Linked DNA regions of Homo sapiens: regions 2, 3 and 4 are each linked to region 1. Evidence: promoter capture Hi-C in 16 types of primary human blood cells and fetal thymus (Javierre and others, 2016). All regions are on one chromosome and are shown on one strand. The core of a region is centred on a gene start or on the middle of the fragment in contact, and the rest is flanking DNA. Distances in the headings are between cores, read along the strand shown. Region 1 holds the start of PTGS2 (prostaglandin-endoperoxide synthase 2). Region 2 overlaps PLA2G4A (phospholipase A2 group IVA). Region 3 has its middle 42 kb from the start of PDC. Region 4 overlaps PLA2G4A (phospholipase A2 group IVA).

Evidence for each region. The method cuts DNA at HindIII sites, captures the fragments that hold promoters and counts their contacts. A CHiCAGO score of 5 or more calls a contact.
Region 2: a fragment that was not itself captured here is called in contact with the fragment with the promoter of PTGS2 in region 1 in 1 of 17 cell types (neutrophils); the score reaches 5.4 in neutrophils.
Region 3: a fragment that was not itself captured here is called in contact with the fragment with the promoter of PTGS2 in region 1 in 1 of 17 cell types (neutrophils); the score reaches 6.4 in neutrophils.
Region 4: a contact is called between a fragment that was not itself captured here and the fragment with the promoter of PTGS2 in region 1, in 1 of 17 cell types (monocytes). The highest score is 5.3, in monocytes.

The regions. Positions count from the first base shown.
Region 1 is chr1:186,677,562-186,685,402 of GRCh38, forward strand. It overlaps PTGS2 (prostaglandin-endoperoxide synthase 2), which reads right to left and starts at 2,862. Exons shown (of 10, transcript NM_000963.4): 1 at 2,678-2,862; 2 at 1,761-1,877; 3 at 1,497-1,640; 4 at 700-843; 5 at 88-269. The coding sequence starts at 2,729. PACERR (PTGS2 antisense NFKB1 complex-mediated expression regulator RNA) reads left to right here and starts at 3,093. Exons shown (of 1, transcript NR_125801.1): 1 at 3,093-3,885. RefSeq lists an enhancer at 13-1,212. The HindIII fragment of the contact is 7,534 bases long and covers 2,107-7,841 here.
Region 2 is chr1:186,864,843-186,872,683 of GRCh38, forward strand. PLA2G4A (phospholipase A2 group IVA) reads left to right here. Exons shown (of 18, transcript NM_024420.3): 3 at 5,593-5,674. Among named protein-coding and RNA genes, the nearest start is that of PLA2G4A, 40 kb to the left of the region's middle. The HindIII fragment of the contact is 2,611 bases long and covers 2,947-5,557 here.
Region 3 is chr1:186,498,798-186,506,638 of GRCh38, forward strand. No RefSeq gene overlaps it. Among named protein-coding and RNA genes, the nearest start is that of PDC, 42 kb to the left of the region's middle. The HindIII fragment of the contact is 4,111 bases long and covers 934-5,044 here.
Region 4 is chr1:186,843,833-186,851,673 of GRCh38, forward strand. The region is part of intron 1 of PLA2G4A (phospholipase A2 group IVA); the gene reads left to right. Among named protein-coding and RNA genes, the nearest start is that of PLA2G4A, 19 kb to the left of the region's middle. RefSeq lists a silencer at 5,653-5,702. The HindIII fragment of the contact is 855 bases long and covers 3,684-4,538 here.

The sequences.
Region 1 (7,841 bases), core at 1,612-4,111:
TATCTATCTGTATATCTCCTTTAATGTTAGCCCTTGACTATGATTTGGTATAATTTTACTAACTCTAAGATATTAACTCTATCTTACCCCATGGCCCAGCCCGTTGGTGAAAGCTGGCCCTCGCTTATGATCTGTCTTGAAAAACTGATGCGTGAAGTGCTGGGCAAAGAATGCAAACATCATGTTTGAGCCCTGGGGATCAGGGATGAACTTTCTTCTTAGAAGCAATTTTTCCACAATCTCATTTGAATCAGGAAGCTGCTTTTTACCTGAAAAATGAGAAAGCTAAGGTAAGAATCCATCTATGTATTCAAGAAAGGAGATGGTGACTGTCAATCTACCAAGAATTCTTCATTTATATGAGAATTACAATTGTGAATAGGATCATAATATAAACAACAGTTCTAAGATATGGTGGAACAACTTCTTACTGAATGATTTTATCTATTTTAATTAGAATTATTTCATTTCTAAAGAAATAATTTGAAAATATTAAGACATTATACCAAGACGCTCATTTGCTTTTACATAATAGTTTATATAGACTCATACTTTAAAAAATACCCATAGATAACCATGCTAAAAGTAAAAACTGCTTTTGTTAATAAATAAATGGTAGTCTAAGGTCAATTTTTTTTTTTGGCAGCAATGCAGCCCGTCTTATAGTTAATACATCTCTAATGGATTCTTCTTACTCACCTTTGACACCCAAGGGAGTCGGGCAATCATCAGGCACAGGAGGAAGGGCTCTAGTATAATAGGAGAGGTTAGAGAAGGCTTCCCAGCTTTTGTAGCCATAGTCAGCATTGTAAGTTGGTGGACTGTCAATCAAATGTGATCTGGCTGAAATTTTCAAAGAAAAAAATGTTTTATTTATTCTCATTTGTTAAGTAAATCAACCATTATTTTTATTGTAAAATGTGGAAAGTGGCACCTGAGGTTGAATGTAACTCCAAAATAAAAAAAATCTATTTTTAAACAACTACACTTTATAGTCTAATGGCCACTTGAAATACATCTTTAATAAAATACATATACTCTGCACATTATAATCTGGCAATATTGATTTTTCAGGTAGCCATCTGCTCACTATCCAAGAGGCCTATGAAAGGAATGGCTGAGTATGGCACCCACTTTAGAATCATGGAAAGTTATTTTCTTGCTGATCCAAATCCAAATTTATTTTAATGGGTGCTACATGTTCAGAACAATTCTGTGGCCCATGGGCATTCAATAAACAGCTGGACCATGCTACCTCCACAAACTGACCAAACAGTAAAGGTTAGAAGAGGTATACAGAGTTGTGAGCAGACTGTATAAACTGGATGGGACTAAATGTCAATATTTTTGGCGATTAAGATGGAAGGCAAACTTAAAAGCTATCTTAAAGTCTTTTTGATAAGCTTGGAAATATGTTTTTAGATTAGGCTTACAGTATTATAAAGCATATTTTTCTTTGAGAAGGCTAAAAACCTTAGAAAGACACTTGTACTTACATGTCAACACATAACTCATAATTGCATTTCGAAGGAAGGGAATGTTATTCACAACGTTCCAAAATCCCTTGAAGTGGGTAAGTATGTAGTGCACTGTGTTTGGAGTGGGTTTCAGAAATAATTTTATTCTTGTCAAAAATTCCGCTGCAAGAAGACGAAGAAAGGGAGGGAGAAATTAATGGGACTCATTATAAGACACAAATCTATACAATGATAACTGTATCCAGCCCCACTCCTAATGAGGCAACCAAAGGACAAACTTACGTGTTGAGCAGTTTTCTCCATAGAATCCTGTCCGGGTACAATCGCACTTATACTGGTCAAATCCCACACTCATACATACACCTCGGTTTTGACATGGGTGGGAACAGCAAGGATTTGCTGCAATTAAAGGACAGCAAATAAATCATTCTCTAGTGTCTTAATCTTAATTTAAACATTTAATTGTTTGACTATGAATCAACTTTACAATAATAAATTCAAGAAATATATAGGTAGTCATGGAAATACAATTTTTTAACCTGCCTTAGAATGGATAAAACGTAGAAATACCAATTTTCTATTCTAAATAAGGATAACAGCATATTCAACTTGGTACATCATGTTACTAAGCTTTTCTTAGTTAACTCTTTAGATGTTAAAATTAGCATTTTTAAGAAGTTCAAATAAGTAGCACTTCACTTTCCAAATTAAAATGGATCTAGTACACTAATCAACATTTAGGGAAAAATTCAAAGTAAAACAGCTTACTTTTAAGACATTTTGCTTATCTTAAAACATAATCCGGGCTTTCCTGGGAGCAGGAAAGAACTGACTAGAATATTTAAAACAACTTCTTCCACTCAATAAAAAGGTTCCAAATATAAACAATTCACATATATTGATCAGATCCTGTCTTATCATAATGACAACCTGCAAATTAGTATCATCTATCCCTATTTAGGAGGTGAGAGTGTCTCAGATCGGTTAAGTAACTGGCTCATAATGATCAGTGCTTGTGGGAAAGCTGGAATATCCACGGAGTTCTTTCGAACTCTAGCGGTCCAAGCTCTTTCCCAAGTCACGTAGCTTCTCTATTCGGAGAGAAGTCGGAGTACTGGGATAGACCCAGGAGGTCAGAGCGGAAACTCTGCCCGGGTGCGTGGAACCGGAGTCCCCGGTGCGCGGCGCCAGGTACTCACCTGTATGGCTGAGCGCCAGGACCGCGCACAGCAGCAGGGCGCGGGCGAGCATCGCAGCGGCGGGCAGGGCGCGGCGCGGGGGTAGGCTTTGCTGTCTGAGGGCGTCTGGCTGTGGAGCTGAAGGAGGCGCTGCTGAGGAGTTCCTGGACGTGCTCCTGACGCTCACTGCAAGTCGTATGACAATTGGTCGCTAACCGAGAGAACCTTCCTTTTTATAAGACTGAAAACCAAGCCCATGTGACGAAATGACTGTTTCTTTCCGCCTTTTCGTACCCCCCACAAATTTTTCCCTCCTCTCCCCTTAAAAAAATTGCGTAAGCCCGGTGGGGGCAGGGTTTTTTACCCACGGAAATGAGAAAATCGGAAACCCAGGAAGCTGCCCCAATTTGGGAGCAGAGGGGGTAGTCCCCACTCTCCTGTCTGATCCCTCCCTCTCCTCCCCGAGTTCCACCGCCCCAGGCGCACAGGTTTCCGCCAGATGTCTTTTCTTCTTCGCAGTCTTTGCCCGAGCGCTTCCGAGAGCCAGTTCTGGACTGATCGCCTTGGATGGGATACCGGGGGAGGGCAGAAGGACACTTGGCTTCCTCTCCAGGAATCTGAGCGGCCCTGAGGTCCGGGGGCGCAGGGAATCCCCTCTCCCGCCGCCGCCGCCGTGTCTGGTCTGTACGTCTTTAGAGGGTCGAGGAAGTCACGTCGGGACAGACTGGGGCGAGTAAGGTTAAGAAAGGCTGACATGTTTTATGTTTTAGTGACGACGCTTAATAGGCTGTATATCTGCTCTATATGCAGCACATACATACATAGCTTTTTAAAAAACTCTTATTTTGTGGAATGAAATAGCTACCTTCAGTGTACATAGCTGTAATTTATCTTTGTAGCTAAGTTGCTTTCAACAGAAGAAATACTGTTCTCCGTACCTTCACCCCCTCCTTGTTTCTTGGAAAGAGAGGCGGGAAAGGTAAATTCTCCTCATAATACTGGTCCTAAGCAGTTACCCTGTAAATAGTTAATGTGAGCTCCACGGGTCACCAATATAAAGTTTCCTGCCTTCTGATGGACAAAGGAAGCGGCGATGGCCAGAATTTGCAGGGACGCTAAATGTCCAAAACGTATGCCTTAAGGCATTTCTCTCCCTGATGCGTGGATTATTTTGGTTACTAGCCCTTCATAGGAGATACTGGTAAAATAAATTCGAGTTTTAAAGTTCACTCTTTTGTCTTTTCTGTCCACTTTTCCAAGATTATGAGTTGTGACCATGGATCAAAGTACAACATAGCATTTACTTTTCAGTTGCCTGGGCTTATTGGGGCTAATTTTCTATTCTCGTTTTGGAACATAGTTGGATGAGGAATTAATTAGATGGAAGGGAGATTTTGACAGTTGGAATTTCATCTTTGCTTTTGTTTAACATCTATCATGGGTAGTGCTCAGGGAGGAGCATGTGAGGGTGAGATACTAAAAAATATATATATGTATATGTGTGTGTGTATATATACATATATATATACACACACACCAGAAAAGAAGTGGAAAATAGAAAATTCAGTTATGTCCTAAGTCCTTAGCATTACAGGAAAATGACAGCATAAAACCTGAAATAAAACTACACCAGGTACCTCAATTTGTAGAAGTCTTATAAGAAAAAAATAAATAAGAGACTCACTTGGAGGTTTTTTTTTTAACTGTTTTGCTTAGTGTACACATCTGATTCTTCATGAGACACGGATGACTAAAATTCCATCTCATCTAGGAAGCCTTTCTCCTCCTCTAGTCATATTTCATCATTCCATTTATGGCACTCCTATTTATTGCATGGAATCTTACATGAAATTTCAACTAAGAGCGTGGATCATTTTCTTTTTGATAATTTAATAATTTCAATCTTCTGTTTCATTTTAAAGGAGTAGGTTGCATCTACTGAAATTTGAAGTTTATAGTTAGAGCTACTAATGTTAGTTTGGGTTAGAAGCCATGTTAGAATCCATACTGTGAGAGAGTACTAAAATTTTACATTACAATCCTGAATTCATTTTGAAGTGATCATCATCATTGTCTTCCTTATCAGACATTAATTGTTCTGTTGTCTGAAAAGAGATTTGGATACAAAAGTGAGGGAAAAACAGGGCATAAGGAATAATTATATTTAGATTATTTTAAACTCAAAGGAATTGAACTCCATCTATCCCATAGTGGAAATTCTGTCACTTATATAGCAGGATAGAGTGAAGAGTTCCATGTACTTGGAAAGTCAAAAAAAAAAGTTCAAGGAGAATCTGGGACTTTAAGGATGGGCAGAGTTTTAGAAAGAAGTGCAAATCTGAGCATAAGGAAAAAAGTTACATAATTTATTAAATAACTGACAATTCTGAGACAATAAAATAAAACGGATAGGTACATTTGGGATGCTGGTCATGGGAGTGTATTAAATGTGCCAAACTAAATTAAGACCACTAAACCTGTTTTATATGGAAAAGTACTGTGACTATTGTGTACCATAAAAAAAAGGTTTGATCATGTAAAACTTATAGCTCTCATGTTTGCATATATTCAATGTTTCTGTGTCTATTTTAGGCAAATATATGGATCTGTTGTACAAAATTTCTATTAGCGTCTGAAATTTGTTGGGAAATAATCTACATGAAAAGAAAATAAGGAAGAATCTTAAAAATCTTCCAGAGCTTTCTGTTGAGTTTTACTGCCCCCTTCTGCTGCTTGAAATTTTGTCAACTTTTTTCCTAAGATGCTAGGAAGATTGCCAGACAGATTTTGTGTTTAATTTTATAATGTTCTAAACATTCACATGTTGCACTGTTCATTTCAGATTTGTTTCATGAATATGTTGAAAAGAAATGAAATATTTATTAATTGAAGTGATAAGCCATTCATGTGAGTTAAAAGAAAATGAACAATAAAGACTCTTAATGTCCAAAATTCCAAATAAACTAACTTTTTTTTCCCTTCCTTGTACTTTGAGCAGGGTTCTACTACTCATACATACAGATCCATTATCTCAGGCAAGGGTCCTCTTTCTATTTCCCTCGTTTCTTCTTTGGTGGGTTTAGTGGTTCACTTAGAGAGTGGAGATCACCCCTTGTCTTCTTTCTTTCATGGCATGTTGGCTGAAAAAAGAGCTTTGTGTCAGGGTTATTCTTAGTATACTTTGGCAAGGTTATGCCATGAAGTTTATCTCTTCCTTGAGTAGCAGAAATGTTACTTACAGAAGATCTTTACGTTAGTCCTTTAGTAAAGCCTGATTATTTACCCATTCTTAGCTACACAAGAAGTTTTGAGGCTATAAACGAAAGCACATAATTTGTTAAATTAAGAAAAGTCCTTTCACATAAGTCAATGAAGAAACACTTAAAAAATCTATTTCTAAGTTTTATAAAACACTGATCTCCTTTCTTTTTCTCAAATATCTCAATTCTTTGATGGATTTTTCTTTTACTTCATTTTTTTTTGTGATTGTTCATTATAATACTCAGATGAGCCAAAGTAGTTGAATGAGTTGAACACAGTCTTTGTATTGGACCTAGAAATCTCACAAGGGGACAAGGAAGGGAAAGAGAGTGTGAGGTGGGGGCACTGGAGCAGGCAGGATGTGAACATACCCACGCACAGAATATGAGGCTTAGGACTTTCAGTTTCTGATCTGGCATGTCAGGGAGGAGCTTGGAAATTGTCACTTCATCCTAAAAACAAGTAAAAATCTAAGCAAACTGAAAAATCAACACTCTCAGAACTGTCAGAGAAGTGAGGCGACAGGTCATAACCCTACTTAAAAAATTTGAAAGACAGACCATACAAGAAGAACAACTTACTGGAGCAGAAATGCACAGGCAGAAACCTCCATGAAAACCAGTACCTGGGTAGGAAAACCTGAACTGTAATTGATGAATTTCTGGAGGTTCAGTGCAGATAAGTCTGCAAAGGAAAAATTCTGGAAGACTCCCACACTTTTGTGAGTTTTGCTTCCTGGAGCTCTACGAGGTTCTCGCAGTGAATATCAGAGAAAACTCCCCCTCAGCTCCATCAGAGTATAGTGTTCTTAATAAGGCCTATACTCAAGAGAAATTATTTTATAATATTAGAGCCTAAACTGTCGGGATTTTTGTCGCAGCCTAACTGAATTAGAAGAAGGAAAATATCCAAATTTAACTGCCTCTAGCTTTCCATACAGGGGAAGAAAAATACCCAACTCCAGCCCTCTCTTTAGCTTCTACATTGGAGAAGGGAAATACCCAATTCTAGCCCCCCCCCAGTGATCTTGTCCCACTTAAGGACAGGAAAAGAGTGGAATGAAAAGCACTTGTTGAAAGTCACCGTTCATAGGCACAGGCTCACTAAAAGGCCGAGACCTGCTATAGGACTATAGAATGCTTCACTTCCCCTGAACTCTTATCGTCACATTACAATGTATTGAGTTTCTTTCACTCAGTACATCATGCCTGGCTTTCAACAAAAAATTAGAAGTCACACTAAAAGACAAAAACATAGCTTGATAAGACAGAGCAAGCATCAGAATCAATGTCAAATATGGTAGAGATGTTGAAATTACAATACCTATGAAATTAAAACAACTGCAATTACTATGATAAGACAACACACAAGAATAGGTTGGTAATGTAAGTAGACAGATGGCAATTCCAAGAAATAATCAGAGAAATGCTAGAGATCAAAAACACTGGAACAGAAGTCAACAATGTCTGTAAGGGCTTATTAGTAGACTGGACATGGCAGAGGAAAGAATCCCTGCGATTGCAGATATATAAATAGAGACTTCTAAAACTGAGAATCAAAGAAAAAAACACAGAAGAAAACCAAAACATAATATCTAAGAAATATGGGGCAACTATAAAAGGTGTAATATACAGAGAAGGAAAGAAGGGAAGGAGAAGAGAGAAAGGAACAGAAGCAATCTTTTAAGTAATAATGATAAGAATTACATCTGACTTCTTCTCAGATACCATACAAAGAAGAAAAGAGTGGAATGAAATATTTCACTTTGAGGGGAAAAAACCTACAACCTAGAATTCTGTACCCTACAAAATTATCTTTCAAAAGTGAAGGAGAAATAAGGTTTTCTCAGACAAATGAAAATTGAGGCATTCTGTGGCCAGTAGATCTGCTTTGTGAGAAATGTTAAAAGAAGTTATTGAGATAA
Region 2 (7,841 bases), core at 3,002-5,501, 190 kb after region 1:
AGCACTTTGGGAGGCTGAGGTGGGCAGATTGCTTGAGCCTAGGAGTTTGACACTAGCCTGGCAAGCAAGGCAAAATCCCATCTCTACAAAAACAAAAACAAAAAACAAAAATTAGCTGGGTTTGGTGGTGTGTGCTTGTAATCCAAGCTACTTGGGAGGCTGAGGTCGGAAGATCATCTGATCCACTGAACTCTAGCCTGGGTGATAGAATGAGACTCTGTCTAAATAAAATAAAATAAAAATATATACATATATATATATATAAAATATAATATATTGCCAAACTTAATGTATATACTTGTGCAGGTGATAAATTTCTTGTTCAAGGGGAGAAGAATCTCAAGTCATATTTCTGATTTTGATTTTCTTTTAGTGATGTCTTCTAGAGCTAACAAATTATGTTCCAAATTAGGTGTTTTGAGCATTGAGATAATTTCTGCACATGGCCAACCCATGTCTGAGAATTTTTAAAAAAAGATTAGATAGTATTGTTAGACTAAAAATAGATAATGCTGATCATTCTTTAAAAAGTGTAGGTGAATAATAGCAAAATGACTGTGCTTCACAGTTATATTAGAATGAAACTCCACACCTGAAAGCGAAACTGAAAATAAGTATCTTACCAAAAAAACCTCAGGATTTATTAATGACATCAATGCAACTATTAAAAAAAATTTCTGAGAAGGTGCCTATTGCCAGTTGTGGTGATCATAATCTCTGGGTTCAGTAATCACACATCATAGTCTTTGTCATACTAACAGTTTTAGTTTTAAAAATTAGGCAAAGTTAGGTTGAATAGAGAAAAACAATATTTGCATTCAGAATCTACTTTATTTTCCATCAACTTTATTTTATGATTGTTTCTTTGGTTCTTGTCTTATAACAGTAGAGTTTTAAACAGATTAGGAAGATCATCAAATTGATTTGGTATAAATTGGTTCTTTTTTTCAATGCCAATCATAGTTACATATATCAATATACTTATCCAGAATGAATTTAATACAGTAGCTGTTTTCCTACTGAATAGAAAATTGTAATTTTGAAATGAAAAATTGTCTTGGTTTTTACTATAGAAATGATTTTAAATGCAGAAAGACACTCAAAGTAATCCAAAACCTGAAGGCAAAGCTTAATCTTTGTGACTAAGTCGGATTGAGCTTAGATTTGACATCTCAATTGAAATATGACATCTCTCTCTGCCAACTACCAGCCACCATTGTCCTGAGTCATTAGTTTCCCTTGGAGAATATTGGTTGTGAATTCAGTAATATAATTTCCTCTGGCACTATCCGTGAGATATAACCAAACATCTCCTATCCAAGTTGAAACCTAGTGCAGTCTGGACTAGTTTGAAATTGCATGTGATAGTGGCCCCAGGAAACATGGTAAGCGGTTCTCAAAAGACTATTTGGATAATCATCGATTGAAACTGAACATCTTTCTCCAAGAATATGTGCTTACTTTATTATAGTTACTCTCTTATTAATCCTTAAAGCTCTTATAAAGAGATGGGCACAGACACAGAACAGCAAGGCTGAATTCTAGTAAAAGTTCACCATTTACTATCTATGAGTAACTGGGAAATTACTGAGCCTCTCAGAGTCTCATTTTACTCATTTATAAATATAATCACACCTATTCTTTAGGGTTGTTTGGAATATTAAATGACAGTTGGTGTCTAGTAGAATGTATGACATATGGTTCACATTCAATGAGTCCTTATAATAAAAACAATCTTTTTGTACATGTTATTAATAACATTTAGAATATGAATATATTTGCAGCAACTTCAAAAATCAAATATTAAATAATGGATAAAAAATATTGCTCATAGTTTTTATGATACAAGGAAGGTTCCTAGGTATTTGAAAACCCATGTAATATTAGAAGTTCTTAGATATGCAAAAAAGCATAGATGATTTTGGGAGGGGAGCATCATTATGTATAATAATTATTATTGAGATGGTTCCTTTTGTGGAGAAAGCTAATTTTTAAGTTAGATTTTCAAGAGCATTTTCTCATTGTATTTCAGGCCCAGTTATCATCTGTGTAGATTCATTTTCTGCATGTGGATGTCCAGTTGTTCCAGCAACATTTGTTGAAAAGACTATCTTTGCTTCATTTTATTGTCTTTTCTCCTTTGTCAAAGATCAGTTGACTTTATTTATGTGCGTCTGTTTTCTGTTCCATTGATCTGGTTTGTTTGTTTATTTTTTTGTTTGTATTTTTTTTATTGCCAGTATCACACTGTCTTGATTACTGTAGCTTTATAGTAAGTCTTGAAGTTGCATAGGGTCAGTCCTCTAATTTTTTTCTTCTCCTTCAAATTTGTGTTTACTATTCTGGGTCTTTTGCCTCTTCATATGAATTTTAGAATCAGTTACTTGTTTTCACAGAATATTTTGTGATTTTTATTGGGTCTTTGTTGAATCTATAGATCACATTGGAAAGAAATGACATCTTTACATTATTGAGTCTTCCCATCCATGAATATGGAATATCTCTCCATTTATTTAGTTCTTCCTTGATTTATTTCATATGAATTTTGTATTCTTCCTCATATAGATCTTCTACATACATTGTTAGATTTATAACTATTTCATTTTGGGGAGTGCTAATATAAGTAGTATTGTGTTTTTAATTTCAAAGTCTACGTGTTCATTTCTGTATATAGAAAAGCAATTGACTTTTGTGTATTAATCTTATCTCCTGCAAACTTGTTATAGTCACATAATTAGTTCCAGGAGTTTTTTTTTAATTGATTATATTGGGTTTTCTACATAGACGTTCATGTTATCTGTAAACAAAGTTTTATTTCTTCATTCTCAATCTATATGCCTTTTATTTCCTTTTCTTATCTTATTGCATCAAATAGGACTTCCAGTACAATGTTGAAAAGGGTGATGACAGGGAAACTCCTTGCCTTGCTCCTGATCTTTTCGGGGAAGCTTCCATTTTGTCATCATTAAATATGACATTAATTATAGGTTTTTTGTAGATGTCCTTTATCAAGTTGATAAAGCTCCCTTCTATTTCTAGCTCACTGAAATTTTTTATTATTATGGATGGATGTTAAATTTTGTCAAATGCTTTTTATTCATCTGTTGATATGATCATGTAATTTTTCTTGTTTAGCTTGTTGATATATGGATTAAATTAATAGACTGTTGAATGCTGAACCAGCCTTGTGTATCTGACATAAACCCCGCTTGGTCACGGTGTATAATTCTTTTTTTTTTTTTTTTTTTTTTTGAGACAGAGTCCTGCTGGAGTCCCAGGCTGGAGTGCAATGGCGCTATCTTGCTTGCTGCAACCACTGCTGCCAGGGTTCAAGCAATTCTCTTGCTTCAGCCTCCCAAGTAGCTGGGATTACAGGCACACACCACCATGCCCGGCTAATTTTTTTTGTATTTTTAGTAGAGATGGGGTTTCACCATGTTAGCCAGGCTGGTCTCAAACTCCTGACCTCAGGTGATCCGCCCGCTTCCGCCTCCCAAAGTGCTGGGATTACAGGCGTGAGCCATTGGGCCCCGCCCGGTGTCTAATTCTTTTTCTATGTTGTTGGACTTGATTTGCTAATATTTTGATGAGAACTTTGGCAAGTATGTTCATGAGAAATATTGGCTTGTAGTTTTCTTTTCTTGTAATGACTTTGTCTGGTTTTGGAATTAGGGTAATGGTGGCCTCCAAGAAAGATTTAAGAAGCATTCCCTCTGCTTTTATCTTCTGGAAAGATTGTAGATAATCGATACAAGAATTGATATAGTTTCCTCTTAAACATGTGGTAGAATTTAACAGTGAAACCATGTGAACATGGTGCTTTCTGTTTTGTAAGGTTATTAATTGTTGATTCAATTTCTTTAATAGATATGCACCTATTTAGATTGTCTATTTCTTCTTATGTAAATTTTGGTAGATTCTATCTTTTAAGAAATCGATCCATTTCATCTAGGTTATCAAATTCGTGAGCATAGAGTTGTTTGTAGTATTTCTTCTGTTATCCTTTCAATGTCCACGCGATCTGTAATAATGTCCCTTATCATTTCTGATATTAGTAGTTTTGTTCTCTCTCTCTCATCCTTTTTTTTTTTTTTCTTAGCATGGCTAATGGCTCATTGATCTTATTGATTTTTTCAAAGAACCAAAGTTTGGTTGCATTGATTTTTTCTATTTCCTGTTTCCAATTTTATTGATTTCTGTTCTAATTTTTATTAGTTTTTGTTTACCTTGGATTTAATTTGCTCTTTTTTTTCCAGTACCCTAAGGTGGTAACTTAGATTATTGATTTTAGTTCTTTCTTCTTTTTTAATATATGCATTCAGTGCTATAAATTTCCCATTCAGTACTGCTTTCAAGGCATCATTCAAATTTTGACAAGGTGTACTGTCAATTTCATTTAGTTTCAAATATTCTTATGATTGATCATTTATGTATAATAAAACTTTGGCTACTCAACTCTTGGATGTTGAAGGTATTTCTTTTTTTAAATAAAGTTGAATAAGCATTATTTTGAAAGATTTTTATGCTTCCCTGCCTTTTTAAACAAGGTATGCTCATTATTCATGTCTTCACCTCTTTGATGCTGTACTATAAATTGAAATATTAATTACATTATTGATGGAGTGATTTCTACAGAAGCTATTGAGTGCTGTCTAATTTTTGTCCATATATTCTACTACTGCTGGTCCTTATCAATCTGTCTACACTTTTGACAATTTTTTTTGCCTCCTTGCATTTAGACTGTCACTGCTCACTTTTCAGTATTGTCAGTATCTGAGCCTCTTTTTAATCAATTATGAACTTTTCAACCAGTTAAGCAAGCCTACTAAAATTAAGGGAAGTGAACTCTCCTAAGATTAAAACAAGAAATGTTTGAGTTTTAGATAAAGACCTTGTAATCTTCTCAGTTGCTCCAAGAACTATGTGAGTTCCTGCTTCCTCATTCTGCTTTAGTGAGTAGAATTGTTTGATAACTGTTTCCCATTTAGGTGAAGTGTCTAATGAAGTCCTCTACCTGTTAATGTTTTATTATGTTTATGCAAGGTGTTAGGCTAATAGCAAATTTTAATATTCTTGCATATGATTTCTAACAAATGCATTACAATTAGTGCAATTTGTTTGCTGCTTATTGCCTTGGTTCCATAGGGTTTTGAAAGCTGTACTGGAAATGTCATGCAGAAAAGACTTTTGATTGACTGCTTCAGTGAACAGCAACAACAACAAACGAATCTAGAATGTCTTGCTCTGAGTTCACCTTTATAAGCCAGGGCTTCCTAGTCAACAAGTACAAAGCCTGATTGTGCTCCTAGAATACCTGCAGTCCTGATTTACATTTTTTACCAAGTGCTTGGTAAACTGGACTGCAAAGAAGTGCTCATAGTCAAGCTGTAGTGACATTTTAAGGCACAATCTAAACTCAATGATTCTGTGATGAGAGAGAAGAGAGTCAAAAAAGAAGCAGCCTTACATCAAAGAATGTTTCTGGTATGCATGCTACTTGTTTTTAAGTAGAATATTTTAAATTAATCTCAAGGAAAAAATGAGGTTCTATGTTGGAAGCTTATTTTAAATTTACTGTCATTTTATTTCCAGGTGGAGCACCAGTATTCCCACAAGTTTACGGTAGTGGTGTTACGTGCCACCAAAGTGACAAAGGGGGCCTTTGGTGACATGCGTAAGTGCCCTTTTTTTCTTTGCTGTTAAACATGTAATTATGGTTCAGCCTTTAATTGCTTGAGTTCCTTGACAAATCGGAGGTTCTGCCTTCTTCAAATGTGGTTATGTTTGTCTAGATCTTTGAATGATAACATTTCAAACAGTTCTCTGATGCTATCTGTCAGATTAGCATTTTACCTGGGCCTTAAATTAGCCAAAGTGACAAAGGGGGCCTTTGGTGACATGCGTAAGAGTGCCCTTATTTTCTTTGCTGTTAAACGTATAATTATGGTTCAGCCTTTAATTACTTGAGTTCCTTGACAAATCAGAGGTTCTGCCTTCTTCAAATGTGGTTATGTTTGTCTGGATCTTTGAACGATAACATTTCGAACAGTTCTCTGATGCTATCTGTCAGAACAGCATTTTACCTGGGCCTTAAATTAGCCGAGATCACTTGGAGTCAGACAAAATGATTTTCTTGTGACGTACACATCTTGGGAATTCAAAGAAATTTTGTTCAATTTTGCTTCTAAAAGAATACTGAGTAAAGACTTTAAACAAGCTGCCTCTGTGAGGTATTATGCACTTAGAATTGTTAAAATGTAGTTTTTCTCTAGTTCTTATGCCTTTGAGTGTGTTTATTTTGTATGGAATAGCCATAGAAACTGGTATAGGACAGCCTGAAATGATGCGATCCACAGCCTGAGGATAATGCTGAATTAACTTGTTGACAGTATCTTTCTCCATGTTTTTAAAAAAGGCAATTTTCCTTGTAGAATCTTATTATTTAAATCATTGGAATTCGTGCAAGTGGGAATACAAATAACAATGGATACAACAAAGTATTATGATGATGAATTTGATAACATCTTAGATTTAATAATGTCTTAGATTTAACATCTTAGATTGTTAATATGGGAATGGATAATTTAACTCTCAAAACAGGTTTTGGGAAAGAGAACAGAGATTGCAATGTATCGTCCAGGAAACAGGTAGGGTTCCCAGCCCAAATGACATTTAAACTGGTACCTAAAGGAGAAGTATCTTGGTCATGAGAGCAAGAAGTCCTAGGCAGAGAAAACAGCGTGTTCCAAAGCAAAAAGACCAGAATGCTTGTGAGGAGCTAGAACCGACCCAATATTACTAGAGAATAGATAACGGAGGTGGGGGCTGGAAGGGCAGATGAGACTAGGATGATAAGCCCTGGTAAGACAAAGACTTAGGACTGAGATTTTTTCATTAATGCAATGGAAAGAATTTGATGGCATTTAAGTAGTAAGTCACACAACTGAATTTTCATTTTTCAAAATGTTGTGACTGTAGTATGTTAAATATATTGGAGAGGAATGTGGAAAATAGGTTTTTCTTTTTTTTCAAAGAACAGGAGGGACTTCAGCCTGTTGAAATGGCAATGAAAATGCCAGTAAAGAGGGAGGAGTTAGATACTAAGAAAAGAAAGAATGTGAGCTTAAGGCTCATATCATCAGTGAATGAGGAGAGTCCAGGAAGTTGGTAAATGTCTGAAGCAAGGAGAGGATTGTTAGGTAGAATCTAACAGCAAGAGTTTTGGCTGAGCAGTGGTTTTCATGACAGGTGAGGAGAGCAATGGCAATTTCTTCAAAACTAGCTTCGATCAGATGTTTACATTTTAAATTTTATCTCAGACTTCAGTTTAACCCATCTAATCATCCCTTTATTAATATTTTTCTGAAGTTATTCTTATTTTGCTTTTTACAGTTCTTTTCATTTTCACCATTTTAAATGAGAATTTACTGAAAGAAAGGCCCCTGCGAAAGAGAAGCCTCATTAGAAGCTGTATTTAGACACTATTACCCACCATACTCTTAAGAAAAGGCGTGCGTTTTACAACCAAAGAGGCCACGCTGTGTGTTGGAAAAGCCATTCTTAATTCCACTAAATTCTGTGTCAGTAGCTTGTCAGGCATGCAAAAGACAGAGCTAATTTGACTTTCAAAAATACAGCTATTATCTGTTAGATAAAGCAGCAGCAATCCCCCCACCCCTTTTTTTTAATCAATGAAGCGTTCTGTTGTGTAGAGACAACGGCTGTTATTGTGCTTAAGATGAGTCCAACAGCAGTTCAAACTTTATACTCCATGAGTCTCTTTCAACTGGTGTGGATCTGATTTTCTAGCAACTTCATGGTAGGCCCAGGCACTTTGGCAA
Region 3 (7,841 bases), core at 1,739-4,238, 180 kb before region 1:
TTTGAGTAAAGCAGATTGCCCTCCATGATAAAGGTGGCCCATATCTAATCAGTTGTTGGCGTGAATAGAACATATGACTCACCTCCCCTGAGCAAGATGGAATTCTGCAAGTAGCTACTTTTATATTTGAACTACAATACTGGCTCCCTCCTAAGTCTTTAGCTTGATGGCCTTTGGACTTGAATTGTAGCACTGGCCCTTCTCTGGGTCTCTACTGGCCCGCCCTGTAGATTTTGGGCTTTTAGCCTCTATTCTCAGTGAGCCAATTCCTTAAAAATAAATCTCTTTATATATAAAATAAATCTATCTATCTGTCTATCTATCTATCTATGGTACACACCACACACACACACACACACACACACATTCTATTAGTTCTGTTCCTCTGACAAACCCTGACTAATAATACACAGGGGATGAAAACTAATGTTTATTTAGTGCAGGATACGTGTCAGGCATTCTATACATATTAACTCAGAATCCCCTAGACAACTCTCGGGGTAACAGATGCAAAAAGGTTAAGGAACTTGCCCCAAAGCATCCACTTAATGACAGACCCTGGTTTGAATTAAGGTTTGTATTATTCTAAAGTGTCTTCAACTACATGACCCTGCATGAAAGAAATGCATTTGATAAGTGAATACTTCCTGTGTTCTTATAATAACCTAATAACATAAGGAAGCTATAAAACTCTCTTTTGTTAAGGACCATATTACTCTCTCCTTTTCTCACTTTCTAGCAAACAACTATCTTTTTTTGGTGGTGGTGTTGATTAGCATCTATTCTTCTTTCTAGTAGAACTGATTTAGTTGAGGATTTACCTTTCTCCCATTGTGTATAATTGTGTTAGGAGGGAATTTCAGGCCCACCTCTGCCTGTAACTTTAATGGGTCAGAACAATTCTTTCCCACTTCTTTGAAATGCTAGTTGGTAAGCTTGTGATTTAAGCTCCACTAATTGGAAAGTTTTCCCCAAGGCTTTGAGGTCTGAGCAAGTGATACAAGGACAGAGAGAACAGCCAAAAGTCTTTCATGAAAGCAACCGCTATTGCAGCTCTAAGATAGTTATTATCTCCTGCTTCTTTTTCCCTTGTCTTCCAGAGTTCCCTTGGTTTCTTTCCCATATCAATTCTGGTCCCCTAACTTCCTGTCTTCTCTGAGAGGCCCATATCCTTCTAATAGACTCTCTTTTGTTTACAGTAAAGTCAGTTTCTGCTGCTTTTAAGCAAGGGACATCGTGATGAGGAATCTCAGGACAAAGATCCTGAGGGAAGGGTGAGATATCAAATATGATGCCCTGTGATAATGAGGCTAGGCGAGTTATCACCTACAGTCACTTGGGAAAAAATATCTAAAAGATAAAGTTTGAAGGCTTAGACTAGTTCTACCATGAAATAACATAATGGTTGTGAGGAATTCAAAAACAGCAGTGTAAGGAGGCTCCTTCTGATGGCATTGGAAGAATAAAAGCAAAAAAAATGATAAGCCCAAGATATTAAAATATCATTTTAAAAAATGGATGTAAACGTAGGGACTTTATGTAAAGTTGTTGAAAATATCTCCTATATCTTGTACATACTGAACTGAGAGAGCCAAGATTTAAACTCAGTGTTTAATCACCAGTTGAATTCACAGTCATATCAGTCAGGATGAGCTGGGTTACACTGTAGTAACAAAATAACTCCATGATGTCAGTGGCTTAAAACTTAAGAATTTATTTCTCACTTGTACTGCGTATCCATTGCAGGTTGGTTGGCAGTTCTGCTCTGCATCATCCTTACTGCAGGACCCAGCCTGGTGCAGCAGTGACTATCTGGGGCATTGCTGGTCATTGTGGCAAAGGGAAAGAAAGGAAGTGTGAGGAATTGTGCACTGGCTCTTAAGGCATCTAAAGGAAGTGAGAGAGGTCACATTTGCTCATATATCTTTGGCTAAAGCAAGTCATATGTACTTTAGTAATTTCAAGGGGGCAAGAATGTACAATTCCATCCGGTATAAGAATTGAAAATTTTTGGTGCACAGCAAAAATGACTACTATCAGAATTTGCTATATTTCTTACATGAAAGTTAGTGCATCAATTAGGAAAAAGTAAACCCGAGGCATCAGAGTAATTCAAACCCCCAAACCCCTCTAAGTCCCCACTGAGCCTTTCTTGACAGAAAATGACACTTCTTTGTTATTCAGAAAGCTAGTTTGTTTTCATGCTGGTACATGCCCATGTAGCTTCATCTGAGGGAGTTCACATTGAGAAAAAAGTCAACAGTCTTGCTCATGCCCCACATATTTTCATCCATAAATCATTAATTAGAATTATACCCTGACATGCCCCAGAGTCCAAAATCAATCTTGGAAAATGAAATTTTGCACAACAAAAGAATGGCAAGCAGGAAAATGCCAATGTTTGTTAATCCTAAAGTGGAAAATATATGTGGGAATAGATTTTATGGACGCTTGGCCAAGGAGAGTGCAGCATGATTTTAGTTTTACTGAATTTGTCAATGTGGTTAATGTACCAGAGATTCTGTATAAAATAGACTAGCTAAGTTGATTGTAACAGTTATTTTTGTCTTAGTTAACACACACACACAAATTGAAACATGCAAATGCATTCAGGTGTCAAAGAAAGTTGACATGTTAGAATAATAGAAATGTTTAACTTTAGAAATTATAGACATAGTCAAATCTAAAGGGTCTAGAGGATAGCCTATTCAGCAAACACCTGAAATACATATTGAAGAAAACACAAGTATCTTTAAAACAACTGTTTGAATACATCTGTTTAAAATACTGTTCTCTCTAGTCCAGAAATTCTGTTATGAAATACTTAATTTACAGTGAGCAGTACCATGGGAGTGGGACAGAGCAGGCAAGACCTTCACATCACAGGCAGTGGTTTGGCATGATCATCAGACTGGCCTGCCTGGAAAAACTATCTGCCTCCTTCTAATTGATTGTGGATGAGTTCCCTAGGAAAAAATTGGGAGTAGAGCAACCACATAACATAAAAGAAACAAAAACTCCAGGTCTAACAAACAAGCCTTAAGCCATGAAAAGAAAAAAGTCGTGATCAGATCCCTTAGCCAATTCCTAAAATTACTTGTTTACAGGATCAGATTCCCTTGAATGAAAGGAAGGCCAGACAACCTTGATACTAGATTCTGCTGTAACACTAAGAGAACATCTGGAAGATGTCAAGGTATCCCCACCAAAGGGAAAAACAATTTACAATACTTTGGGCCTTGTACCACTGAGAAAGAGTCCCAACACTTGATATGCCTTGGAATGAGCATATACCCACCTGTGTATCCTGCTTTTGCCATTTGCCAGGTGACTGGAAAGACTTCTGGTTTTGATTGAGGCCCATGGCAAGAAAAGATGCCCTAGCCAAAAAAAAGCATAACATGGTACTGAGCTATTAGTAACATATGCTCATGGCTAGAACAGAGCTAAGAGTGAAAAGAGGAAATGAGTGGGTTATAAACAGTGTAAGACAGTATGAACAATTACATGTGCATATAATTTTTTTTTCTGGAAACACTGGCAGAAATCTCCCCATATTAGAAGATTGGAAGCACATGTTCTCTAAATTGGGAGTTCATAAGAATAATGACCTTAATTCCTGAATTTTTTTCTGATGAATGGAGAATTAGAGCCATTTGTCTACTCTGAAATAGAAAAGTCCATTAAAAGGAGAGGCTGAATATAGTGGTTTGAACTTTTCAATAGTCCCACAATTCCATGTAACTTTCATACAAGTTTTAGCTTATCATCTTGTCTGTTTCCAGCTAGTAAATTCTGTTACTAAGTGTGAATGTTCAGGTATAAAAATTCCTTTATCTTGGGATATTACGTTCTCAATATAGATCACTAGTGTGGTGCACATAGAAATGCCTTTAGCTTAATGTTTCACAATTCTTAACTGTTCAGTTTAGTTATTGTTTTAGCTATATTTGAGATTTTACTGAGTTTATTTGTATTTTTCTGATGTATCATTGTTAATTTAGGGTTTTTCTAGTTACTTTTTGAGCCATAGGATATACTTTTGGCTCATTAGGCATTCATGTCCATTCTCTTTTTTGGTCACAATGTTTTTTTTTTTTTTTTGCATTGAATTATTCCCTTTAACATTTAAAAAAGTTACATGGGTTATCCTGTTATTTAGGGTATGTAAGATATGTAAGTAGCATATATAATTTTTCTTATTAAACATTAATGACATTTTAATTAAAATAGAAGTAACAAAGATTTTTGTCTCAATGTATAGCAGTGATATTTTATTCATATTTACAATGAAAAGTAATGTCGAATTTATCAGACTCTATGACAGAAATATTTCTGGGAAAACAATGGTAGGATTTCTGAGACATTATTTTAAGGACAGTTAACCTGGACTTTTTGTTTTTGTTTGTTTTGCTTTTAAGAGACAATGATCATGTGTATCGGAGGGAGTAATAGTATGTTGTTGATGTGTGGGTGTTTTATGATCATGCTTCACTTGAATTCTCTTCCCTGTTTCATTCCACTTCTTGGAATTCTTCTATTTACTTATGAGAAGAGTGAGTTTCTAAGAGCTATTTTGAGAAGGGCGATGAATGAGTGTGGAATGAATCAAGGGTAATTGACATGCTTGGCATATAAGTTTGTAGAGACAAAACTTTCATTCCAGACAAATGACCAGGTTTGCCATATGAAGTGGACAGCAGATAGTATACTGTCATTAGCAAAGGTTTACTTTCAATACATAAGATGCCATGGAAGGCACAAGAGAGAAGGATTTATATAATTTTAAAAAGGAAAAATATATCTAGATGGACTATGTAAACAATGACTATAAGCAAAGCACAGGGATTTGAATCCTCAGGATGAAAGGGGGAGGAACAGAAGCCTTCAGTATGAACTGGCTTCACGTCAGAGCATCTAAGACAATCAACGATTTCTCACTGAAGATTAACCTCGTTAGCATTTCTCATGCCATTTTATTCAGAAAAGTTTGTCTACTCAAATTTGACTCACATCGTAAATTCTCTGCCTTTTAACTCACCTAAGCTTCAGTATTTGCAGGGTCTGAGAATGGGGAAAGGGAACTAGGTAGGCAAAACTAGAAACTTTACCCATCAGGTAACCATTCATTCATTCATTCAATATTTATTGAGCATTCCCCTCATTTCCAGTGTTGTGCTCATTGCTGGACAGCCAGAAGTGAACAAGCCACACTCATCTCTGCCCTCCTGGAAGTCAGACAAATAGTACTTTACAATAATTTAATTATAAGTCAGATTAATGTTCAAAAATACAGATGTTGGGTTGCTTGGAAACAGTGGAATCTATCCTAGAAGTTCAGGGCCATCTGCAGGGAGTAAAATATATATTAAGAGCTGAATGGGGAGTTAGACTTAGGCAGGTAAAGAGTAGAAGGGGAGGGGTAGTCAAGGGCAGTGGAGGGAGGAGGGCCAATGAGTTTTAAGGAGAGGAAACATATGTAAGACATAAGACTAGAAAGCACAATGAGTGTAAAGAAAGAATGAAGATCCATATTACTGGCACATCACATTTGAGGGAACTAGTGGTAGGAGCTGAGTCTGGATAGGAAGGCAAGGTCCAGATCAAGGAGGGCTTTATAAGCCAAGTCAAAGAATTTGCACCTTATTTAAAGGCTGTGAAAGACCATTGAAGGGTACACGTTAGGTAGTGGGGCAGAAGGATACTAGATTGAGGTCAGAAAGAAGGCTCTGGCTACAATATGTAGAACAGGCTTGGAGAACATTTAGACTGACCAAACTTAAATCCACTTAATTTCAAGGCAAAGCTCACCTGGGAAAGGTTGGAATCCCTTGCAGAGCCCTATAAATTTCTCCAAGTTCAGAGTGGCAGAATTGAGGGTGAGGATGGGTCATGAGGAACTGGGAGGCAGCAAAACGCAGTGCTTCAGATAGGATCTCCCTATATGTTGTTTGCTTATTTTCTCTTGCTGCTTTCAGGATCCTCCCTTTGTCTTTGACCTTTGTGAGTCTGATTATAATATACCTTCATTTATTCTTATTTGGGTTGATTCTGATTGATTGACCTTCCTGTGCTTAAATATTTATATCTTTCTGTTATTATTATTATGACTATTATTTTTTAGTTAGGAAGTACATTTGGTGAGACCCACAAGAGCAGAAGACTTCAGTGCTTCCCCTTCAGTTGCTCTAGGCCAGCAGTTCTCAATCTTGGATGCACATTAGAATTCCTTCTGAATCTTTATGAAAATATTGATTCCTGTAACTTATTTCTGGACTGATGAATCATAATCATGAAAAACTCATGAAATTTTAATGAAAGAAGGATTAAAAACTACCATGAGACTAGTGAAGAGAGGACACAAGCAAAACAGGAGGAAAGGAAGTAGAAATTCAGTGGCTTTTTCATTGGGGGCACTGAGAAAGGGGAAGAAAGTCTGAAAATATTGGGACTATTACATAGACTTGCAGAAGAAAGAGGCCATTTATCTCAAGTTTAAGTTCCATTGTTACTCTTATTGTCTATCCCTACCAATATTTCTTATATTATAAACCTGTTTTATATTTTATCAATATGACTCAGTTTTCTTGTGATTAGCATTTGCCTAGTACATCTTCATCTGTTTACTTTTACAAACTAATGACAATAAAAATTCCTTTACACAACAACTCCCTTCTCCCCTCACATTTTGAATTTTTGATGTCATAATTTACATTTTATATTGCCAATCTCTTAACAAATCATTGTAGTCATTAGTATTTTTAACAGTTTTATCTTTTGGTCTTCTTAGTAAAAATATTAGTGGTTTACACATCATGATTACAATATCAGTGTAACAATCATGGTAGCATCCTTTTATTTTGGTTTGAAGAATTCCCTTTATTGTTTATTTTAGAACAAGTCTGGTAGTAATAAATTCCCTTAGCTTTTTTTGAGAAAGTCCTTATCTCACTTTTATTCCGGATGGATAGTTTTGTTGGCTACAGTATTCTTGGTTTGCAGGGTTTTTTGTTTGTTTGTTTGTTTTCCTTCAGCACTCTGAATATATTGTCCCACCCACTCCTGGCTTCTCAGGTTTTGCTGAATAGTCTGCTGTCAGGTGTATTGGATCTCCCTATATGTTAACTTGCTTATTTTTTCTTGCTGCTTTCAGAATCCTCTTTGTCTCTGATGTGTGAGTTTGAGTACAATATACCTTTGGGTATTCTTATTTGGGTATTCTCATTGGGTATTCTGATTGATGACCTTTGACCTTCCTGTACTTAAATATTTATATCTTTTTCTAGGTTTGGAAAGTTACTATTATTATTACTATTATTTTTAGACACAGGATTGTGCTCTGTCATCCAGGCTAGAATTCAACAGTGTGATCACAACTCACTGCAGCCTTGAACTCCTGGGCTCAAGTGATCCTTCCATCTCACCCTTTTTCTTTTCTTTTTTTTTTTTGAGACAGGATCTCACTCTGTTGCCCAGGCTGGAGTGCAGTGACAAGATATCAGGTCACTGCAACCTCTGCCTCCTGGGTTCAAGTGATTCCCATGCCTCAACATCCCAAGTAACTGAGATTACAGGTATGAGGCACCATTGGTGGCTACTTTTTGTATTTTTTTATTATAATTATACTTTAAGTTCTGGGGTACATGTGCAGAACATGCAGGTTTCATACATAGGTATATATGTGCCATGGTGTTTTGCTGCACCCATCAATCCATCATCTACATTAGGTATGTCTCCTAATGCTATCCCTCCCCTAGCCCCCCACCCCCCAACATGCCCCACTGTGTGACGTTCCACTCCCTGTGTCCATGTGTTCTCATTGTTCACCTCCCACTTATGAG
Region 4 (7,841 bases), core at 2,861-5,360, 170 kb after region 1:
GTTACCATTTTCTCTGAAGCCGTTTCTACTTTAAACCACTGGAATCTCTCTCTTCTCTGAAACTCTAGTAGGTATTTCATATATACTTGTCTATGTAATTATAATGAGATTTGAAGAATACAAATTTGATAGATTAAGAAGCTGTGACTTAGGAATACAAATGGAGAGGGAAATCTTAAAAGGAACAGTATGGATATCAGCCATATGGCACCACCTGTTACTACTGTGGGACTTAGTGGCAAGTTCCATACCATTGGGTTCCAGGCTCAAGAAACAGACATAGTTAATTATTCTGTGCCTTTGTGTCTGGAGGCATGCTGTTACATTTCCTTGGGAACAGGGAGGTGTTCCTGTCGTAAACTGAGAGTATGGTTTGAGAGACATTTTTAATATAAAGCATCTCATTTACCCATCTGAATTCCTATTGTTTCTTTATTCCTTTGTGCCGGTTGGCAATATCAAACTCTTTGTATAGCCTTAGTTTACAAAAAAAGCACCATCAAATTCACTTAAAAGCTTAAAACTTTAGTGATGTCTTAGTAACTATATATCATTATAAGAATGATGATGATGGAAACATAGTAATATAATGCTCTCTTTGCTTTTAGAATATGCTTCCATATCCAGTATAGTGGAGAAAGCTTTGAATTTGGCAGCGGACAAGTTAGTGTCCAAATGTGTTCTACTTTTAAAAATGTTAATGGATCAAAAAATCAGTGTTTCTATTAAAAATTTATTGTTATCCTTCAGGTATATACCCAGTAATGGGATGGCTGGGTCAAATGGTATTTCTAGTTCTAGATCCCTGTTGGGGGAGCAGGGAGGGATAGCATTAGGAGATATACCTAATGTTAAATGACGAGTTAATGGGTGCAGCACACCAACATGGCACATGTATACATATTTAACAAATCTGCACGTTGTGCACATGTACCCTAAAACTTAAAGTATAATAAAAAAAATTTATTGTTGTATATGAAAATGTACTTGGTGTTTATAAAAGGTGCTCAATAAATTTGCCTACTTGAATTTCTTAGAAATCTCTATAGAGGCCAGGTGCAGTGGCTCACACCTGTAATCCCCTCACTTTGGGAGGCCAAGGCCACACCTGATCACACTGTAATCCCCCAACTTTGGGAGGCCAAGGCAGGTGGATCACTTGAGGTCAGGAGTTTGAGATCAGCCTGGCCAACATGGTGAAAACCCATGTCTACTAAAAATACAAAAATTAGCTGAGCATGATGGTGGGTGCCTGTAGTCCATGCTAGTCGGGAGGCTGAGGCCCCAGAATTGCTTGAACCCAGGAGGCGGAGGTTGCAGTGAGCCAAGATTGCACTACACTCCATCCTGGGTGACAGAGTGAGACTCCATCAAAAAAACAAAACAAACAAACAAACAAAAACTCTCTATAGAATTAAATACTTGTGACTTGCATGAGTTGAGGCAGTTTGAGGGGGATCATCACCAGTTTCATAAACAATGATAATAATAATGATTATTTTGTACATTTATGGCCTTCTAGGTACTGTGCTTGGTGATTTACATATATTTTCTTATTTCATCCTCCCACTGTCTCTGTGAGGATTAGGGGCGATTTTCCCTACGTACAGACAAGGAAACTGAGGGTCAGGATCCCACAGATAGAGAAAGGAGGAGACAGGCTAGAACTTGGGTCATTCTGGCTGCAGTCAAGAAGTTGCTGCCACTTAAATGCTCAACCTTTTAATATCTCCACGCGTCTATACAATGAGTTGGAGGGAAAGAGAAAAGAATCTTTTGCATTCCTATCCCTCTTCCCGCCACATGCCACAACTCTAATAATATCCCCTCTTTTTCCCCTTGTCATATCACTGTACACAGAGAGAGAAGTGACAAAACACTCTAGTCTGGGTTTTTGTTTCTGTTCACTTTTCCTGAGAAGTCCATCTTGCCCTGACAACATGACTAAACGTTTTGGAAAGACCACATACTATTAAACTTTCATTGAATGCCAACAGTTACATTGCATCGGGAAGTATCTGTTGAAAAGTCTATCCAAATTTCCCTCTCATTCATGTTCTGAAAGTTTCTAATTACAGGGCAGGGAAAGGAAAAAAAGAAAGGAAGAAAAAAACCCTGTGAGTTTCACATCTCTTACTTCAGACTTAAGAGACTTTGTACACTCACTAAGACTGGTTATTTAGCTTAGTTATAAGAAACAAAGGAATAGAAACCCTGCTATTTTATGAGTATTCATGAGAGTGGTTGTGCCAACTAGTTGCAGTAAGGTTTCCAGAACTGAGCTAATTCTGGGACAAAAAATTCCTACTGTTTCATGTGGTTAGTTGGACAGAAATGCCTTAATTTTGCAGAAACCTAAAATATCTGCTGCTACTATTAACAGTTACAGAGAGAAAAAAGAAAGGACGGCTGCCTATTCCTAACTGGAATTGGACATGCAGCCACTGCCTGACAATAATGGCTAGTGATTTTTATCCTGAAGGAAGTGATTCTATTTCAGTAATTTCTTCATAGGAGGTCTTTGTTTCTTCCCTTGAACATAACTGTGGAATAAAATTTATAAATATAAATTAGATCTGTTCATATGTATTACATTTTTAAAATAAACTTTATTTTGAAATAATTTAAGATAAGAAATTACAAAAATATTACAGGGCTCTCATGTACCCTTCATTTAGCTTTCCCTAGTGTGACATCTGACAACCACAGTACATTATCAACACCAGGAAACTGACATTGGTACAGTGCTATTAATTAAACGACAAACCTTATTTGGATTCCATTAGTCTTTTATATACATTCAATTTTATCCGGTGTGACAACCTCTACTTTTTTATTAGAATGTTACATCGCTCACATTTAATGTTATTGGAAGCATGGTTGGATGTTCATCTTCCATTTTGCTGTTTTCCATGTCTCTTTTTTTAAATTCTTCTGTTCCTTATATTAAATAGCTATTTTGTCGTGGCCCATTTTAATTCCTTCATTGATATTTTAACTATATTTTTGAGTTATTTTCTTAGTGGTTGCTCTAGGAATTAAACTCTATGCCTTAATTTATTATAGTCCGCTTCATATCAATACTGTCTTAATTCCAGTAAAATACAAAAACTTTTCTGCAGTATAGTTCTAGTCCCTGACCGCTCCTCCTTTTTGCAATTATTGTTGTATACATTAGATAGGATTATAATTTATTGCTATGTAAATGCTATATCTTTTAAAGAATTTGAGAGAAGAAAAGGAAATGTTTATAGAATATTTTATATTAATCTACATATATATTTATATTTGAACAATATAATATTTATAGACTATTTTATATTAACCTACCTATTTACTGTTACAGTTAAATAGAAAAGGCTTCAGAGAAATGGTAAATAACTGGTCTGCTGTTTGAAAATGTGATAGAGCTTATTTACTGGTACCCTGTATTTCTTTCTGTAGGTTCAATTATGATCTGGTGTCATTTCCTTGGTCCAGTATACCTCCATTCCATCTCCTTTCTTTTGTGCTATTATTTCATACGTGTGTGTGTGTGTGTGTGTGTGTGTGTGTCTATAGTTGTTTGCAATAATTCTGCCCGGTTTTGTCAATGTGTTTGTTTTTCTGGGAGAGGATTTCCCACATTCCTCGTTCTGCCATTTTGTAAGCTGGTTCACCTATGTATTGGACTTTAAAGTAGAAGCTTTGGCCAAGACCTTAAGCCATAAGATTTAAGACATGCACTACTAAAATGGATAGTGAAACAGCCTACTCTTTGTGTTTTAAAGAAAGCAGATGGACAAGGACATTTATATAATATATAAAACTTACCCACTTCACAGTTATAAAAGCATTGAAATAGTAGAGATGTGGGAAGAGCTTCAGAAGAGTTTTGTTGTTGTTTTGGAGAGCACTGCTGTGAGTACAGCCCCTCTTCCCTTGGGGTGGAGATCTGGAGAGGAATATGCCTACTAATTCCCAATCAAGAGAGGGGCTTTAAAGAGACCACTGAGAACGCTCATCAGAGGGTTTAACATTTGTCTTCTGCAGTAGGCTGGTGTCTTGTCATACTTGGGAAATATAAAGGACACAAGTAGCAGAATAGTTTCATTTAGGAAGTAATTGCATTCTCAGGGTTTGTTGGAAGAAAGAAAACATGTATGAGTATTGTCCATGGACTAAAGAGAACCCTGGGAAGAATCTTAAATCCTATACAAGGCGTTTGCCTGGTAACATGAAAGAACCTCAGAAAACGAAAACTGGAAGTGGACCACAAGATGCACTGGGGCTGTGGAAAAAAACACAAGCCCCCAGCTGGAGTAGAGATGCGTTTGTGCATGTCAGGGAACACAAGGAAGAAATCTCAAAAACAGAGAATCTCAGAAGAATCCACAAAAAGCATCTATGAAAGAAAGACTCAGCTTTAACATGTACCAAGCCAAGAGATCACAAAACCAGCTTATAAAAGTACTGCTGAAGTAATATTTTTCTTGCCTCTATTCTCGCTCTCTCTGCATCCTTTTCCAACTATAAGGGTTTAAAAACCAGAGTTATCAAGCTTGGGAGGGTTTGACCATAGGCAGGGGAGGGGAGAAGTCAATGACTTCATCCCCTTTCTCCTGCAACAAGCTCTACCTTGAGCAGGAGAGAGACTTTAACTCAACGAACCCGGCATTTCAATGTCTGCAGTGACTGGGTTAATTCTTTTTCTCTTTTCCTTTTTCTTTTCTTCCTTTCACATCCAAGTTAACAGAAAAGTTCTGAGGCTGCCTGAGATTTCATCAGGGTAGAAGGAGAGTTAGCCCTGAATAGAATCAAAGAACAAGACAAAGTTGCTTTGAGATTAAATGCCATGAGTCATGTTTGTTTACTCTCTAGTTATCTTGTAGTTCTTAACCTAGTGATTTTACACACACACACACACACACACATACACACATACATACACACAGAAAGGGGGCAGAGAAGGGAGAGAGAGAAACTAGACTTGGACAGTTAGCTATCTTAAGCATATTTCTTGCTTTGGATTTAATATCAGGAGAGTCTCTATCCAAGTCTTGCTGTAAGATACAGTAGTGGATAATAGGTGGTGAACAGAGTGGTTATGAATGAAGTTGCTGGAAATGAGAAGAGGAAATAAAATTGCTGACATTAAACTTTGGATCCCAGCAACAGATTTCCTCTAAACATTTTGAGTACTAATTTCACCCCCTCTGGAATCTCACTTGTTCTGCTTTTTTTAAATAAATAGAGAGCTAATTTAACATCATTTGACATTAAGAATTGTTAGGAATAAGAAAGAGAGACATCAAAAGAGGGTGTGGCACTATTCTGTGGATTCTTTATGCATCAACCTGGCACTACTTTGAATATCCATCCATCCATTGGACAAATCTTTATTCTGAACCTACTATATTTGGGCCATTGTATTCGGCACTAGGGATGTCTCTATTAATAAGATAAATATGGCCACTGACTTAATGCCTCTTTTGTTCTCCCAGGAAAGACAGACATTGCGTCAGTGGAATGAAAGGCTTGAAGGAGGAGTCTAGAGAACACACAGAACCAGTAACAGGCAGACCAAATATACTTTGAAGGTCACGGAAGGGTTCTCTGTGGAAATGACGTTGAGACTGAATCCTGGAGAATGGGTCAGATTTAGCTAGGTAAACAGTAGTTGCCTAAGAGGTTCAACATGATCTGCCACTGCCTAAATTTCCAACCTCATCATAAGCCACTTTCACGTTTGCTCACCATTCGCCAGCCACTTGTCTTCTCTCAGTTCCTCATACTGCCTGCCTGGAACATTATAGTCTAAACCCACTCTCTCCTCACTCTGCATGGCTAGCTCCTTTTTAGTGCTCACCCTCAATTATTCTTTGTTTCTGCATTTTACTTGTTTCCATCATTTTATACAACTCTATTTCCAATTGTTTCTTTTATTTTTTGGATTCCTTGTTTTCTGATTGCTTTCTAGAGATGGAATCTCCAAGAGGGAAGGGAATGTATCTAGCTCCTCACTTTTGCCTCTCCAGTCCCTTGAACAATGTTTGACACATGGTAGTTATGCCTTAAATGTTTGTTGACTAAATGAATGAATAGAAGAGGTAAGTTACAGCCCTGAGTGGGAAAGAGCTTGACACATTTGAAGGAAAGAAAACCAGTATGGCTTTAGCATAGAAAGCAAAAGGGAAAGTAGTGGTATGGGGCTGAGGAAGTAGATAGAAATTCAATTTTGCAATCTTTTGCACTAGTATTCTTCAAATTGCTGTTAGTGAGTCATGAAATCAATTCAGTGGGCTGTTACCAGCATTTAAACAAAAGTAATAGACTGAAATCAGAGTACATTGTACTTAGCAAAAGTATCACATGAAACTTACTTCTATATTTTAAATATTTGTCTGTGTATATATTTATGTATTGTATTGTGATATGCAAAGGTTTCTTCGTTTTGGTTTGCAGTAAATAGATATAAAAGCCACCATTGTAGACCATGTTAAGGATTTCTGATTTTTCTACTAAGGGAATAGAAACTCATTGATGATATTTTCCCAGAAGAATAGGTTTTAAGATTTCCTTCCAATTGGAGACATTAATCATAATAAACAGTGTTACTACTTTTAGCAACATGCATGCATGAAAAATCAGGCTAGCCTGCATTTATTGCTACCCCTAGATTGCCTCATTTTGTTTCTACAAGGTAAGAAGTCTTATATACTATTGTTTCCCCAGTGCCTACTACAGACTAGGTAGATAGTAAAGATGTATTTGTTGAATGAACAAAGTATCTCCTATGAAGCTACTGTTCGTGAATTGAATGGCCATAAGTCCCAGAAGATGCTCTTCTGCTATGCCATTCTCATTATTACAGCTTTTAACACAGAAAACTTTGGTGAGAATAACTACCAGAATCTTGTTTACTTTTTGAGGTTCCACTTGGAGAGTGTCAAGTATAAAGTCAATAGGGCCACAAAGTTTCATGGTATACACCTGTCTGATTCACCATTTTTTTGCTCCCAAGCACCTTGCATAGCACAAGGCATATTGTAGATATTTATTTTTAAGTGGCAAATATATAAAAAAAACTTATTTTCTACTGTCACAACAATAATTACTACAGATAGTACATCTTTCAAGTAAATATATAATGTTATTAGTGATAAGTCTATGTAATGTTTATCTTAAAAGCAAATCATATGCATTGAATATTTATTATGGGCTAGGTACCTTTCACAGTACTGTTATTCACATTACAAGCAAGTAACCTGGGTCTTAGAATATGAAACTGGAACTTGAATTAAGGTCTTTCTAGATCCCATAACCAATGGTGTTTTCACCAAATTATGCTGCTTCAATAAAGAAAATAATTGGCTTTCCTTAATCCTTTGAATCCCTGATAGTACTGTCCTAGCATTGTCCTACATAGACATTTCAGCTTCTGGAGAGGGAGGACATAAGCTCTCAGGAATTACCACTGCTGCAGCAATCTAAAGGCTTCATGCTCTTGGGCCTAGGAGCTTTATGTGGACCATCATATGCATAGAACGCTTCATATTAAGAAATCACTTCTGAGGGGAAATGATATGAGGGAAATATGGATGGTAAAGATGAAAATGAGGCAGGTGATTTTATGTTATATCATCCATAAAAATATATTCCACCCACAGCTCTAGAGTATTAGCTGGATTCTGACTTGGGAACGGATGTAGTTCTCATACTTTGAATTTAGTTGGCACGAAAACATCAGCCATACTAGTAGAAAGTCATTGCTGATCACTTTAAAAATGTTGTAATAGAAATAGCACAGAAAATGCTGATAATGGGAAGTGCTGAATCGTAAGGATTATATCACTCAATAT